Regions from separate parts of the Homo sapiens genome. Here all the other regions are linked to region 2. The links are contacts of gene promoters, found by promoter capture Hi-C in blood cells and fetal thymus (Javierre and others, 2016). All regions are on one chromosome and are shown on one strand. The core of a region is centred on a gene start or on the middle of the fragment in contact, and the rest is flanking DNA. Distances in the headings are between cores, read along the strand shown.

Region 1 (2,700 bases), core at 184-2,683, 850 kb after region 2:
GTACCAAGGGTTTCCAAGACCCTATGGATAGCACTTATGAACTATTCTGTCCTTGCCATGGTCAGGGCTCAAAGAAAAATTTAAAAAATAGAAAAGTAAAAAGAAACTTTCAATCTTTCAAAAATCCATAAGAAGACAGATGAGTAGTTTTCTAGAGTTTGTTTTGAGATTTAACCTATACGGTTTATTAAAAATTAAAGAATTTTAGAGAATATTGGAGACACCTAACCAAAAAGGGTATTTAGGAGGAAAAAAAAAAACCTGCAAAAATAAGGTAAATATTTGGGTATAAAAAAGAGCCTAAAACTGTAAGAAGAACAAGAGGCTATTTAAGAAAAAAAAAAAAAGTTACTCCTTTTCTGTTTTCTTTATCTCATAAAATATTGCCAATTTCATGAGAGCTATGTCCTCCAATTACTAGTTGTCTCTTTCAGTGTTCAGTTCTATGAGGCTTTTTGTTTTGTTGTGTTTGTTTGTTTTTTCAGACAGTCTTACTCTTGTTGCCTGGACTGGAGTGTAATGGTGCGATCTCGGCTCACGGCAACCTCCGCCTCCCGGGTTCAAGTGATTCTCCTGCCTCAGCCTCCTGGAGTAGCTGAGATTACAGGCATGAGCCACCATGCCTGGCTAATTTTTGTATTTTTAGCAGAGACGGGGTTTCACCATGTTGTCCAGGCTGGTCTCAAACTCCTGACCTCAGGTGATCTGCCTGCCTCAGCCTCCCAAAGTGCTGAGGTTACAGGCGTGAGCCACCGCACCTGGCCAGTTCTATGAGTTTTAATGTATGTATAGACTTGTGTAACCACCACCACACTGAGGGTACAGAGCAGCTTCCTCAGCCTAAAACTTTTAATTCCCTTTTGCTGTTGCTTTGTTGTCACAGTCTACCTCATCCCTAACCCCTGGTAACCACTGATCTGTTCTCTATCACTGTGGTTTAGTCTTTTCCAGAATGTTCATATAAATAGAATCATACAGTGTTTGACTGAAACTGGCTTCTTTCACTCAACACAATGCCTTTGAGATTCATCCAATGTGTTGCATGTATCTATAGTTTGCTCCCTTTCATTGCTAAGAAGCATTCCACTGTTTGAATGTCCCATGGTTTGTTTCTAGTAGGTATCTGGTGGTGTCACATTGTGACTTTCATTCACATTTTCTCCAAGAAATTAAAGGTGTAAAATATCTTTTTTTTTTTTTAACTTTGCCTCATTTTTTTCCCAAAGCCACTTGGGAGTATGACATCACCATTAGTCTCTTGTGCCTCTAGGAGAAACTCTAAACAACACAAACTCATTCACACATACAAGTTCAGGTCCAGATGCCCCTCAATCTTTTTATGAGCTTATTTGCCATCTCTAAATTCTCCTTGGTGAAGTGTCTGTTCATATCTTTTGCCCATTTTTTTAATTGTGTTGTTTTCTTACTGTTAAGTTTGGAGAGCTTTTTACATAGCCGGGATACAAGTCCTTTCACTGGATATGTGATTTACAAGTATTTTCTCCCAGTCTGTAGTTTGGCTTTTCAGTCCCTTAACAGTGTCTTTGGAAGAACAAAAGTTTTTAATTTTGATGAACTCTAATTTATTTTTCTTATATATAAGAATTTATATATAAATTCTTTTCCAGTCATGTCTAAGAATTCTCTGCCTACCTACCCACAGGTCCTAAAGATTTTTTCTTGTTCTTTCTTTTAGGAGTTTACAGTTCTAAGTTCTACATTTAGATCTAAGTCAATTTTGCATTCATGTTTTTATAAGATGTGAGGTTTAGGTTGATGCACCTTTTTTTTCCCACATGAATATCCAATTGATTCAACATCATTTGTTGAAAAGAATACCCTTTCTTCACTAATTGCTTTGCACCTTTGTCAAAAACCAATTGGCCATTGCCAAGAGGTGGAAACAACCCAAATATCTCTCAAGTGATAAAGAGATAAAGAAAATGTGGTATACGTAAGTGAGAACATGTGGTATTTGGTTTTCTGTTCCTGCATTAGTTTGCTGAGGATAATGGCTTCCAGCTCCATCCATGTCCCTGCAAAGGACATGATCTTGTTCCTTCTACGGCTGCACAGTATTCCATGGTGTATATGTACATTTTCTTTATCCAGCCTATCATTGATTGGCATTTGGGTTGATTCTATGTCTTTGCTATTGTGAATAGTGCTACAATGAACATATACATGCACGTATTTTTATAACAGAATGATTTATATTCCTTTGGGTATATACCCAGTAATGAGATTGCTGGGTCAAATTGTATTTCCAGTTCTAAATCTTGGAGGAATCACCACACTGTCTTCCACAATGGTTGAACTAATTTTCATTCCCACCAACAGTGTAAAAGTGTTCATATTTCTCTGTAACCTCACCACATCTGTTGTTTCTTGACTTTTTAATAATCACCATTCTGACTGGCATGAGACCCTGTCTCTTTAAAAAAGTAGAAGAAAAGCAGCAGCAGCTACAATTACAAGAGTTAGAAGGTGCAATGCATTTTATCCCAAAAAACAAGCTATAAATGGTGATTAAGTCAGTTGTGAAGAAATAGGTTCTGTGTGTTGGCTCAAAAATTTAGCCAACATTATTTTTTATGGGAAAACAAATTCCAAATAACAAGCAGCTGACCTGAAAATAGATTATGGAAACAAAAGCTATTCACAAAATGGGGAGCTTTTTTTTTTTTGGCTTTTCATATA
Region 2 (2,700 bases), core at 119-2,618:
GGTTCAGGCTCAAAATACAGTCCTAGAGGAGAAAGGAAAAAGGCAGGTTTTTGCATAAAAATTGCAAAACACAGATTTGAATGGAGATCTATACTCTGAATATTTACTATGTCTAGGGGGAAAGGGGGCTTAACAAATCCAGAAAAGTAAACGGGAATGCAATTTTGACTCTTTAGTTGTCCTAGCTAATTCAAGCTCCAGGGAAATGAACATGGTTAATAATGTGGAAACTGGCTGTAAAACTGGTTAGGGCAAAAATAAAAGGATGGTGACCCAATTTGTGTCCAAGTGTCACAGTCAAATAATGGCTCAAACTTCCCCTTTCTTGGGCTGTAAAACCATGGACATCCAGCCCCTACCGGCAGTTCACGTAAACCTCTCAGAAGTAACTGACAAAGTTGTTGAGGCTTTGAGAAAACTTCTGATGCTACGGGAAATAATTCTTTTGACTTATGGTGATTGCTTTTTTGAACTTTTCACTCTTACTCAGTAACTTAAGTTTGGAGGAGAGAATTTTGAGAAGTGATTTAAATGAGAATGCAAATGATAATCATGGAAACCAGGAACATAGAGTACCAATTAACACTATTGGCTCGGAAGTACAAAAAGCAAAAATGTTTTCTCAGTGAACATGTTAACATCATGATGTGATCAAAGTAAGTTGTTAAACATCAAACAAAGATAATCAGTAAACATTACTCCTTTTCCATTTTATTATTAATAGGCCCAATTTGTGATAATTATCTGTAAATGCTGGAAGAAGAGAGGATTAGAGTGTGCTCATCAAAGGGACTAAAGGACACTGTGTTCTTCTTGAGGTCTCAAGTTCCTTTAAGGTGAAGCTACGGTGACACATTTAGTGGGGAGAGGCCATAGGCAGAGGTTTCCTTATATACGACCTCCTTAAACTCTTAGCTGTTGAGTAGCAGAGGTAGGAGTGTTTATGTAATCGAGTTATTCTTATTGGGCTGAGAAAACCTACACTTGTTTGAACTGCTTTCTGGGAACAGAGAAGGGGAGGGAAGCCCCTGTCGGCTGGAAACTAAAGGAACAGAGCAAAGGCATTATTTGAGTGTCTTGGGATGTTCTGTATTCCATCTAACAGTGCACTAAAAAAAGATAAGTTCCTGAGAACAATTCTGATTTTGTAGTTCAGTTTAGTTACTTGGCGATGAGGAACTGGAATAAATGTGAAGAACAAACTCTTGAGACAATATAGCAGAGAGTAGAGAATTCAGAAATGAAGACAACATTTATGCTTGTTTTCTTGCTGGGCTTGCATGTGGAGTGACTATGCCTTTTTCACCTTCTGATTGGTTGGATTCCAATTAAATGGTGGTGCCTATCTTAACCCCTGAATCAAGACTGAAAGACTTTTGAGATGGACTTTTGAAAGAGTGTTTGAGGGAACTGTTAATGCTGGCTGTACTGACCTGCAGAAGATGGTGCAACTGGGTCTGAAAGGTGGACACTGCTGCCTCCGGACCGCTGTCAAAGCAAGAATATCACCGTGAAGCAGGCTGAAAGAAATGCTCTGAAGGGAAAGCTAAGACATTTTGATGAGGACTATGTTTCTTTCTGCTATAAGGTAAGCCAGATTCTTCCTTCTCAGAAAAAGTTGCTTTCTTTTTTTTTTTCAATGTTTGACAAATTTTTGTACAAAATATATTGTAAAAAACAAGTGAAAGGGAAAGTGTCAACAAATATTTTATAGAATTTGAAAGACAGGTGCATAGAATTGCGGTAGGTGTATTAAGTCCGTGTAGAATTTAAAATGCCTTTTGACGTTTATAATCCTTTTAAGATTCAATCTGGAAAATTGCATTGGAACAATGAAAACCTGAAATCGAATCATAAAACAGACTTCTTAAATACAACCAATATTATGTTTTATCTAGATCCAATATTTATGTTTGCTTGCTTGGGGAGTTTTTTTCCTAATATCAGATTCTTCTACTTAAATTTTAAAAGTGATTAATTTTTAGTAAAAAATTAATGTAAATAATTTTATGTGGTAAAAATGTAACAGTTTGAGAAAATGCAGCAAAAGGCTTCCTATTAAACTATTCGATTTAAAATTATTAAGGACTAACATTTATTTAATCTCAACTATCTATGGCTTAGTCAATTATTTTTCTCAAAAATTTCATATACCATCTGGCTACTTAGCCTTAGGGAGTCGTTTCCCCAAAGAACACAATTCTTAATTTTGTTAATTCTGAGTAGCTAAAAATATTCACATGTTCTTAGTATACATGAAATATTAAAATAGAAAATATTTTCTTAAAGCTGTGGTTGGTGAGTTGGAACCTACTTTCATTCTAGTTAATGGTCGGGAATTATTCCAGTACTTTGTATGTTTTGTACTACTATCTATAAAAGTTGCTTTTATTTAAACTACTGTATTTAAATACTTAAAAGTTTATGAGACTGCTCTTTTTAACTATTCAAAGTAAAGCAGCCTGCATTTTTCAGTTGAATTAATAATTATACTGAGTAATTTAGGATTTTTTTTTTTTTTTTAAATTTCAGGTGTGGCTTTAAAGTTTAAAGGTACCCGTATTGCTCTGTGATTCTGTGCTGGGAAGCCGAGCTCACCACACCTCTTTTGGGTTACAGGGCATACTCACTCCCATACTCTGAGCCACAGGGAGAGCTGTGCAGGCAGCCACTGCTGAAACAGGAGGCAGTATTAATTTT
Region 3 (2,700 bases), core at 1-2,500, 870 kb after region 2:
TGTAGTGACGGGGTGCCACCATGTTGCTCAAGCTGGTCTCAAATTCCTGGCCTCAAGCCATCTTCTCAACTTGGCCTCCTAAAACTCTGAGATTACAGGCCTGAGCCACCATGCCTAGCCGAAGGTATTTTCTTTTCTTTCCAAAGCTTATTTGGAAATCAAAGGCATATATATCTACCCACCTACCAGGTAATAAGCTCTACTACCTTACAGGAAATGGCAATGACTACCTGGTCAACGCCACCTGGTGGCCTCAGTATATGTCTCCCTAATAGTCACAGTTATAAAACATTTGGCAATTATTATCACTCATGAACTCTATTTTACTCTCATACAAGCCAGTGCAGTAGCTTGCACCTGTAACCCCAGTACTTCGAGAAGCTGAAGTGGGAAGATTGTTTGACGCCAGAAGTTTGAGACCAGCCTGGGCAACATGGCAAGATCCCATCTTTACAAAAAATAAAATAATTAGCCAGGTGTGGTGATGTGATCTGTAGTCCCAGCTAATTGGGAGGCTGAAACGGGAGGATCCCTTGAGCCCAGGAGGAGGAAGAGGCTGCAATGGGATATGATTGCACCACTGCACTCCAGCCTGGGCAACACAGCAAGACCCTGTCATTTAAAAAAGAAAAGGCCAAGTGTGGTGGCTCATACCTGTACTCCTAGCACTTTGGGAGGCCGAGGCAGGGGACTGCTTGAGCCCAGGAGTTTGAGACCAGCCTGAGCAACACAGAGAGACCCTATTGCTACAAAAAATAAAAATAAAAATGAGATGGTTGTAGGTGTATGAAAAATAAAAGGCATGGTGGTATTTGCCCATAGTACCAGCTACTCATGGGGCTGAGGTGGATCACCCGATCCCAGAAGTTCAGGGCTGCAGTGAGCCGTGATTACACCATTGCACTCTAACCTGGGCAACAGCTCAAGGCCCTGTCTCAAAAAAAAAAAAAAAAAAAAAAACAAAAAAAGTCATCACACAGCTCTCTGAAAAACATGAATGTGTCCATAAAAGACTAGACCAGGGTTGTAGTGAGCTTCTAAAAAGCAAATCATGGCCGAGCATGGTGACTCACGCCTGTAATTCCAACACTTTGGGAGGCCAAGGCGGGCGGATTACCTGAGGTCAGAAGTTCAAGACCAGCCTGGCCAACATGGCGAAACCCCGTCTCTACTAAAAATACAAAAATTAGGCATGGTGGTACATGCCTGTAATCCCAGCTACTCGGGAGGCTGAGGCAGGAGAATCGCTTGAACCCGGAAGGCAGAGGTTGCAGTGAGCCGAGATCAAACCACTGCACTCCAGCCCGGGTGGCAGAGTGAAACTCTGTCTCCAAAAAAAAAAAAAAAAAAATCAATAGGGCGATTGCTTTTCCAGTGCTACATAGAATACTACTGCTGAGAGATGTTGTTTAGTAGTTTTCTGCGTATTTGACATCTCATTTCAGTCCACATTGTATACTTACAAATCAAAGGGACTAGAAAAAGTTTATTTGTTTGAATCTGTAAGATAAATACCTCCTTACATGTTTTTTTAAGATAGTATGTTAACTATCAGCTAGCTGACTTAAATTTCCTTCACTTCTCACAAACATCCCTCCAAAATTTGAGAAGCCATTATACTAAAAACTAGATCCTTATTCCTCCACCATTGGTCATTTTAATTTTTACCTCACACTTGAAAAGATTCTCTTCAACTTAAAATAATGAGTTGTTATTCTTATTACTACCAGTAGATGGCAATAGCCCATCAAACAAATCTTTAAGTAAAACTCAGAATTAAATAATTTCAGAGCCATAACTATCTCGAAAGTTATCAAGTCCAGTGATCCCATTTCACAAATGAGGCAACTGAAGCCCCACTGGGATAATGCCCTCCCTAATATTATAACACTGGGAAAAAAAACAGGATTCTATTCATTAAAACTCATCAAAAGGGTGTGTGTGTGTGTACCAGAATGTTCCTCAAAAGGGCCTGCGCTCTCCAACTTCTTTTCACAGCCAAAACATGCTTTAAAACTAGTATTCCCACATATTATTCATAATTTTCAACATGAATAACTGCCATTTTTTTCAAAGTACAATGGCTGAGAATGAAAATACCCTAGAGGCAGGGAGGCCACTTTGGAGGTTATCAAAACAGCATAAACTAATCAGGGACAGAGAATGCAGTGACTTAACAGACATCCAGGAGGTAGACCAAAAGGTTTTAGTGACCATCTACATAAGATAAACTGAAAAGCGGAAAGAAAAACATTGGGATTTCCAGCTCACACAATTAGGTGGTACCATTTAACCTAGGTTTAAGACAGGAACCAAAGGAACTTTGGGGAAGACAGAAATAAGTTGAAGCTTAGACCTGCTGAATTTAATAATGAAAAAGCCAGATGAGAATGTCCAAACACCAGATGGCAATATGGGTATGGGTCTGAGCCCAGCAGAGAAGTCTAGAGATTTGACATCAACGAATGCCTGGTAGCTAAAGCTACAGGAAGCACATTAGAAAGAATTCCATCATTTATACACACTACTGAAAGCCAGAGGTTTCAGCGTTGCTGTTCTTCTGAAGCACTCTAGAGCTAAGCTTACAGCAAAGGAATTCGAAATCTCTTACATCAGCCTCCTCTTCTATAAAATTGGACAACATTAATCTTATAGTTCTGACAATGTATGCAAAATACGTAACACATAGTAGAATTCAAC

Evidence for each region. Contacts are between HindIII fragments. The CHiCAGO score rates a contact against its expected background, and 5 or more counts as called.
Region 1: a contact is called between a fragment that was not itself captured here and the fragment with the promoter of COLCA1 in region 2, in 2 of 17 cell types (naive B cells and total B cells). The highest score is 9.7, in naive B cells.
Region 3: a fragment that was not itself captured here is called in contact with the fragment with the promoter of COLCA1 in region 2 in 1 of 17 cell types (total B cells); the score reaches 6.4 in total B cells.

What each region holds. Positions count from the first base shown.
Region 1 is chr11:110,451,119-110,453,818 of GRCh38, reverse strand. All of the region lies in intron 2 of FDX1 (ferredoxin 1), which reads right to left. Among named protein-coding and RNA genes, the nearest start is that of FDX1, 23 kb to the right of the region's middle. The HindIII fragment of the contact is 3,804 bases long and covers 1-2,700 here.
Region 2 is chr11:111,303,716-111,306,415 of GRCh38, reverse strand. It overlaps COLCA1 (colorectal cancer associated 1), which reads left to right and starts at 1,368. Exons shown (of 2, transcript NR_169237.1): 1 at 1,368-1,588. It overlaps POU2AF3 (POU class 2 homeobox associating factor 3), which reads right to left. Exons shown (of 5, transcript NM_001271458.2): 3 at 1,434-1,488; 4 at 1-22. The HindIII fragment of the contact is 13,879 bases long and covers 1-2,700 here.
Region 3 is chr11:110,432,986-110,435,685 of GRCh38, reverse strand. All of the region lies in intron 1 of FDX1 (ferredoxin 1), which reads right to left. Among named protein-coding and RNA genes, the nearest start is that of FDX1, 4.4 kb to the right of the region's middle. The HindIII fragment of the contact is 2,203 bases long and covers 149-2,351 here.